2 separate regions of the Homo sapiens genome follow, and region 2 is linked to region 1. Evidence: promoter capture Hi-C in 16 types of primary human blood cells and fetal thymus (Javierre and others, 2016). All regions are on one chromosome and are shown on one strand. The core of a region is centred on a gene start or on the middle of the fragment in contact, and the rest is flanking DNA. Distances in the headings are between cores, read along the strand shown. Region 1 holds the start of NINJ1 (ninjurin 1). Region 2 overlaps WNK2 (WNK lysine deficient protein kinase 2).

Region 1 (3,632 bases), core at 1,060-3,559:
GAGCTGGGCAAAGCGCTGCCCTCTCCAAACCACTGCCAGGGGTCACCAGTGGGAGAGGGTCTCCGTGGCAGGCAGAAGGATGAGGGCGCTGAGTGCTGGCCTGGCTCTAAGCACTTCATATACATCAGCTACTGAGTCCTCACCACTCTCTATGGCAGGCACCGCGACCACACCCATTTCACAGATGAGAAACTGAGGCACAGAGTGCTGACATGATGTGCCCAAGAAACGGAGAAGCAAGGTCTTGAGGTTGGGAAGAGGAACAGGTGTGTTGGGTGGTCCTGGGCCCCCAGGCTGGGTGAGCAGAGCGGCCCTCGAAGTTTTCTACCCCTCAAGGGGAAATGTGCTCATCCTCACACTGGCTCATAGCCTTTCCACAGCTCCCTGGACACCAGACCGTGATCAGGCCTGCAAGGCCCCTCCCATCGGCCTGGCTTCCCATCCCCCCACCTCCTACCTGGCCCTCATGTGCTCTGTGGTCCAGCCTCTGAGCCTTTGCTCCCACTGTTCCCTCTGCCTAGATGCCCTTCCACACATCTCAGAGAGCCAGATCTGCTCACCCACCTTCCCTGCCCTCCAGGGCTCAGAGCCAATGTCCCCACCTCCACAGAAAGCCTTCCCTGACCACCATGCCCCGCCCCCCACGATGGGCTCCCAGCCCCCAGGGAACCCCCTGCTTTGCCCTGGCCTCTCCTGCCCTGTCTGGGCTGGGCTGCTCTCCAACCGCGGCTTGGTGGGGCGGGGCTGTGTCTCTCTCCCTCTGGTGCCCAGAGCCAAGACAGTGATCCGGGAACAAATCCAACCCAATCTCCTCTGGGCTTGAGATGCACCCATCTCAGGAGGCACAGCCTATCCTGCCGCCCGCAGAAGTGAGCAGAGACTGCTCTGAGTGGAGGGCATTGCCCGGGCAAGGTCAGGGTTGGGGGAGGAGCAGTATCCCTTCCTTTCCAAGGCGCTTCCAAGCCACTGACCTGTTTATTACCTGACTTGCTTTCCCCACTTCCCTGAAGGCAGGAGAGACCCTTTGTTCTCTCTTTATAAGACCATGTCTAAAAGGCCCAGCGAGGTGTGGCAACTTCCCAAGGACACACAGCCGGAGGAGCCCCCTGCCTATTGCTCCAAAGTGCTCACACACTGGGGCAGGGCCAGGTCGCTGGGGTCCCGCACACCGGTCAAGTCCTGCAGTGCGACAGCTCCTCTCTAACCTAGGAACAAGTGTCCATGCAGCCCCAGGGCCATCCTATCCCGTGGCTCATGGGGCCCCGCCTCCCCGAACATGTCCTGTCCCCACAGCACCGGCCTAGGACTGTTCACCAGCGAGTGGGCAGAGTGTCTTTGCCCCAGTCTGGTCCACGCCATGGAGAGGCCTGGAAAAACCCAACAGGCTGCTGTTCCCTGCCCCCATCCCTGAGGGGGTTAGAAAAGGAAAGAATGTTCAAAGTAAACAAGTCACCAGAGGGCCATGCCAGGACCTTGCAACAAACACAAGGTGCTCAGTAAGTGCTGAGTCCTGGGATGAAGAATTCTGAAGCGGGACCACTACCAGGGCCTGCCCCCTGCCCACAGCCCTCCCAGGCCGGGCAGGGCAAGTTCTGGAGGGCCGGTGGCGGCATACACTGAAGGCTGTGTGACGTTTCTATTTCTCAAGGCAGGTGAGTGGAATAGGGACCACAGCGGGCCCCAAGTTCCCCCATCAAGGCACGCATCAGATTGTGTGGTCAGCGTGGGGTGACGTAACTGTCTGCATGCAGCTGGTCTGGAGCCCGGAGGCTGTGACTCCCCTCCGCCCGCCTCCGGGCAAAGTGCGCGGAGGAGCCGGCACGGCGAGGCTGAAGTTAGAGAGGCCCGCGCGAGAGTGGGGGGGAGGTCGGGAAAGCCGGGCGCCGGCAGTCCTTAGCCCGAGGAGCTGCGCCGAGGCCCCCTCCGCCGTGCAGCCAAGCGCGGGCGCTGCTTAGTGGGGCTGGGGACGCCAGCCCGCCCTGCGCCCCCACGCCCCCTCGTCCCGCCCACTTGCCGGGGGTGGCTGGAGCTCCCGGGGGCATCGTTCTGACCCTGATGGGGCGGGAAGGACTTGGCCTAGAGCGGGACGTCCCCCAACACTCTGCAGTGCGGACGCGGCGCACACAGGTGCCCGGGGAGCCGCGGCGCCCCGAAAGGACAGGGCCTGGCAAGATCATGCAGCGGTGGGGGGAAGGTCTTACCGAGGCGTCCGGGGAGCCGGGTGTGCCCGGAGGCAGGCCGCCGTTGAGCTCGTACTCCTCGGTTCCCGAGTCCATGGTGCGGCCGCCCAGGCCGCCAGGATCCGGGCCTGAGCGCGCCCGAGCCTCAGCCGCAGGCTCCAGCTGCGCGCCCGCCCCCGGCCCGCCCCCGGCCCGCCCGGCGGCGAGCTGCTGCCCCAGACTCCGCCTCCACCCGGGGCGGGCCCGGGGCCTGGAGGCTGTACGCTGAGAGCGCGCAGTTTGGGGCGACCCCAACCCCTCGGGCCTGAGACGGTCCCGCGGGGCCCCACAAGGGAGGGGGCGCGACGCCGATGGCCCCAGAGGACCCTGCGCTGCGTCTTGCTCTGAACCTCCGTCGCGGACACTTTTAATCCACAAAATGAGGCCAAGAACGACCTTTCCCTGGCCACCAGGCAAACTGCATGAAAGCGAGCGGGCGTTGCCGCTGGCGCCCACGCTGGGTTTTTCCCAGGCGGGGTTCGCCCTGGGAACCGCAGATCGCTCCAGCACAGCGCCTGCTGCGCCCCTAGTAACAGCGTCAGAGAGTCCGGGGTTCCCCTGATTGCGGGCCACGCTGACACAGGGCTTCCCACTCCCTGACCTTAGGTTTTCCTGCCTGGGAAATGGGGGTTATGAGGGCACAGACTGCTGGAGGGGCTGGGGGAGGCACAAAGGGGATGAACGTGCGCTGACTCATGGGCCCATCTGTGCCACCTGTGGCAGGGGGTGGGCTGGGGGCAGCACAGTGCCCAGAGCCCTGGCCAGATGCTAGGCGGGCCCCCACCTGTTGTATGATTGAAGTGGTTGTTTGGTCTCTGTTTCTCCATATGTTCATTCCTCAGCACTTTGCCCATCTGGGGGCCTGGGGGTCGAGAGCATGTGGCGGCCACCCTGGGAGGCCAGGGGAGTTCATCCTGACCACAGCATAGTCAGCTTGCGGCAGTATGGCCACTCTATTTCCAGAAGGGCAGTGGAAGGAAGGCCAGCTCAGACCCCAGGCTCTGTCCAGTCAGGCTGCCACCGGGACAGGAGGTAGGAGTGAGTGGGCATGGGCAGGGCAGCAGGATTGCGCTTGCCCTGATCCTCCAAACGGGGTCATCCCATGAAGGAGGAGCTGTCGTGGGCCCACTTCACAGCAGAGAAACTGAGGCTCAGGCTGTCACTGCCCCAGCTCTGCCTCAGAGGGGATCTGCAGGACAGGGTCTGGCACGGTGGCCCACGACGGGGATGGTTGCTGTTGTCCTCGCATAATCAGGGCACTGTTGGCACACCTGAGTGTTCACCAGCAGCTGGAAATCCAGCACCATTCACACAAAAAACTCTCTCACAGTATGGGACAAATCCCTATTCTGGGGGATAGTGCCTGCCCACGAGGGCTCAATTCCTGGAGGGGCAGGAGGTGTGGGACCACAG
Region 2 (3,816 bases), core at 755-3,254, 150 kb after region 1:
GGCCTTTTGGTAACACTATAATTTTATCATTTTGCCTCAATATCTAATGGTATTAAAACAATTACTGTTTTAAAAAGTGATAAGGATTGGAAAGGAAGAAATAAAACTACCACTGTTGGCTGATAACATGATTATATACATAGAGATTTAAATTTACAGATAAATTGGAATTAATAAGTTAGCAAAGTAGCTACAGACTGCAGTTATCTTTCTGTATACCAACAACAATCAGAAAATAAAGAATATTGAAAAATTCAATTTATAGTAACACAAAAATGCCAAACACCAGTGTATGAATCTAACGAAAAGTATGTAACATCTGTATACCAAAAACTACAAAACATTGAGAGAAATTTTAAAAAGAAATGAGTAGGAAGATATGTACCATATTCATGGACTGGAAGATTCAGTATTATAAACACTTCTTCCCAAACAGATCTGCAGATTCAGATTCTAACAATTTCTAAATGAGCATCAACACACTGATTATATACTCTTTACAGAAATGCAAAAACCAGTAAAAACCAAGACAGCTTCTAGGGGAAGGATACCATTCTCCCAGATGTTGTGACTCATATAAACCTGGAGTCACAGAGACAATCTGGTCCTAGAACAAGGGTAGAGAAATTGAGCAATGGAGTCAAGCCAGCTCAGAAGCAGGCCCACATCTTTGGACACGTGGTTGACAAGAAAGGTCCGATTGTCAAACAGTGGAGACCGGGTGGTCTTCTCAACAGAAAGAGTTGGGATAGTAGGCTGTCCACACAGGGAGATGATCCTCATACCACACACAAAACTCAGTAACAAGTCGCTTGTGAATCTCAATGTAAAAGGGAAAACAGTAAAGTTCCTAGAAGTAATAAGAGGCAGTATCATTATGGCCCCCACGTAGAACACATACGTTAAAGTTCAACAAAATATGCAAATGGAAAGACTGGCTAAAAATTGGTTAAATTTGACTGTATTAAAATAAAAAACTATTGTTTATCAAAAGACACCACTAATCGAGCACATAGGCGAGTCACGGAGCGAGAGATTCTGTAGTACAGATAGCCCCCAGACAGTTCTCTACCCAGCATCATGAAGAACCACAAATTAAAAAGAAAAGAATGACAGCTCTGTAGAAAAGCAGGCAAGAGACTTGAACAGGTGTGTCCTAAAAGAAGATACCCAGATGGCCAGTGAACACAGGAGAAGGTACTCAATTGAATTAAGTATTATCAGGGAAATGCAAATCAAAACCACACTGAGCTATCACCTCACACCTGTTAAGATCACTGCTCTCAAAAACAAAGGACTGCAAGTATTGGCCAGGATGTGGAGAGAGGGGACCTTTGTGCAGTGTGGTGTGAGTGTAAATTACTACAACCATTATGGAAAACAATGTGGACCTTCCTCAAAAAATTAAAATAGAACTACCGTATGATCCAGCAATCCCACTGCTGGGTATATATTCAAGATAATTGAAAACAAGGTTTGGAAGAAATACCTGCTCTCCTGTGTTCATTGCAGCGTTATTCACAATAGCCAAGATATGGAAACAACCTAAGTGTCTTCACAGATGAATGGATAAAGAAAATGTGATATGTTTGCACAGTGGAGTACTGTTTAACCACAAAAACAAGGAAACTACCATTTGCGACGACATGGATGAACCTACAGGACATTATGCTATATGAAATAAGCCAGGCACAGAAAGACTACACGATTCATTCCTCTCATATGCAGTATCTAAAACAGTCAAAGTCAAAAACAGTCAAAGCAGAGAGCAGAATGGAAGTTGCCAGCAGCTGGAGGGAGAGGGAAACGGAGTTACCATTGAGGGCATAAAGTTTCAGTTATATAAGCTGAGTAAGCTCTAGAGCTTTGCCACACAACATAGTGCCTATAGTTAACAATAGAGTATCATGCTTTTAAAAATGTGTTAAGACAGCAGATCTCATCTTAAATGTTTTTTCCATAATTAAAAAACAATAAAGAGCCACAATAAGACGCCATCACACAGCCCTAGGGGTGCTCAGAGGCTGCCGATGGTGGGGGCATTGGCTCCTGCTTGGGGAAGCACCTTGGCACCCTTACATAAAGCTAAAGGGGATCAGTGACCAGCAGCTCCCCAGTGGCGTGTGCCTGGCAGGACACGGGCCTGCACGCACTGTGCCTCAGTGTTAGTCGTGGTCCCACCCAGCCACAGCCCAGTGAGTACCAACACAGAATGGATGCGTGCATCATGGTGCAGTTGTGCAAACAATAACAAGGACACATCTCACAAACACGGTGAGAGAGGCCAGGCACCACAGAATAGAGTACCATTCCATTGATAGAACGTGCAGCACGACCATCATGTTTAGACAGACGAACGGTAAGGCCGGAAAGGAGCAGTGGAGGAAATTTTGGTCAAATTAGTTTACCTTTGTTGGGCCAGGCAGGGGATGGGGACCAAGGGAGTCTGGGGGCACGAGGGAGGGCATCAGGGTCCTATTAATCTCCCCATTCTCACCTTTTATTTTTTGAACAGTTTTCTTTTTTTGTGTTCATTTTCTTTGTGTTTTTTAAAAAGACAAAGTGGGCTGGGCGTGGGGGCTCACACCTGTCATCCCAACACTTTGGGAGGCTGAGGCCAGCGGATTGCTTGAGCCCAGGAGTACAAGACCAGCCTGGGCAACATGGTGAAACCCAGTCTCATATGAAAAATACAAAAATTATCCAGCTGTGGTCCGAGCTACAAGGAAGGCTGAGGTGGGAGGATTGCTTGAGCCCGGGAGGCAGAGGTTGCAGTGAGGCGAGATTGCACCACTGCACTCCAGCCTGGGTGACAGAGCCAGACCATCTCCAAAAAAAAAGAAAGGTCGGGTTGCATTTTCAAGTAAGGAAAACTGGGCTCCAAGGCCAAGTTTGAGAAACACCGTCCTGCCACCTCTCAGATGCCCGCAGTCCCTGTGAGCCTGGTGGAGGCTCCATGAGCTCCTGCACAAGGCACTGGGAGACTTGGTTATACTGCTGGGGTTCTGGATTCCTCCCACAGGGTCACTGACCAGCCCTGGCTGCGCTTCTGACCATACCAAAGACTGGGGGTCTGAAGGCTTCAGGCTCCTGCTCACTCCTGGGCATGGAAGTGTGTACAGCTCACTACTTAAACTCTTTAATTTTGAAATTTCATTGAATAACTTTTGTCCAGTGCAAGATAGACAAGAGCCGTATCTTTCTGGAGCTGTCTGTGCGGGTGAGGGTGTGGACAGACAGATGACAGACAGGCAACAGCCACAGCTGATGGTCACACGCTACAGAAGACACAGAAGGAAGGGTGGTGCTGGTTCAGCCACAAGGGACACTATGGGAACAGGGACCTGGAGTTGCGAAGCTGGTGGCTCAGAGACCTGTGGGAGGCGTTACAGGAAGCAGCAGCCAAGGCTGGGCTGAGCTGCAGGCAGGCAGGAGCCTGGCGTGTCGGGAAACAGAGAAGACCAGCACGCTGGGGCCATGGCCAGCTGTGTAAGGCATCTTTTTAGCCAAGGAAGAAACAGGTAGATAGGACTGGAGTACCCTGGTACAAAGGCATTTTCCCCATTTCTTCTAGATTCAGCGCCCTATAAAGACCAGCTGTCCTCGAAGGAACAACCCAGCTTTCTAGCCAGTCAGCAGCTCCTGAGCCAGGCGGGCCCCAGCAACCCTCCTGGGGCACCCCCAGCCCCTTTGGCCCCCTCCTCCCCTCCTGTGACTGCTCTGCCCCAAGATGGAGCAGCTCCAGCCACCAGCACCATGCCAGAGCCAGCGTCAGGAACTGCCAGCCAGGCAGGGGGTCCAGGGACACCTCAGGGG

What was found. The method cuts DNA at HindIII sites, captures the fragments that hold promoters and counts their contacts. A CHiCAGO score of 5 or more calls a contact.
Region 2: a contact is called between a fragment that was not itself captured here and the fragment with the promoter of NINJ1 in region 1, in 1 of 17 cell types (neutrophils). The highest score is 5.3, in neutrophils.

The regions. Positions count from the first base shown.
Region 1 is chr9:93,131,942-93,135,573 of GRCh38, forward strand. It overlaps NINJ1 (ninjurin 1), which reads right to left and starts at 2,310. Exons shown (of 4, transcript NM_004148.4): 1 at 2,202-2,310. The coding sequence starts at 2,276. LOC124902212 (a long non-coding RNA gene) reads left to right here and starts at 1,071. Exons shown (of 3, transcript XR_007061665.1): 1 at 1,071-1,652. RefSeq lists enhancers at 1-33, 1,515-1,564, 3,024-3,620 and silencers at 1,855-2,104, 2,275-2,504, 3,005-3,054. The HindIII fragment of the contact is 11,448 bases long and covers 1-3,632 here.
Region 2 is chr9:93,285,214-93,289,029 of GRCh38, forward strand. It overlaps WNK2 (WNK lysine deficient protein kinase 2), which reads left to right. Exons shown (of 30, transcript NM_006648.4): 20 at 3,575-3,816. Among named protein-coding and RNA genes, the nearest start is that of WNK2, 100 kb to the left of the region's middle. RefSeq lists an enhancer at 3,437-3,816. The HindIII fragment of the contact is 6,054 bases long and covers 1-3,816 here.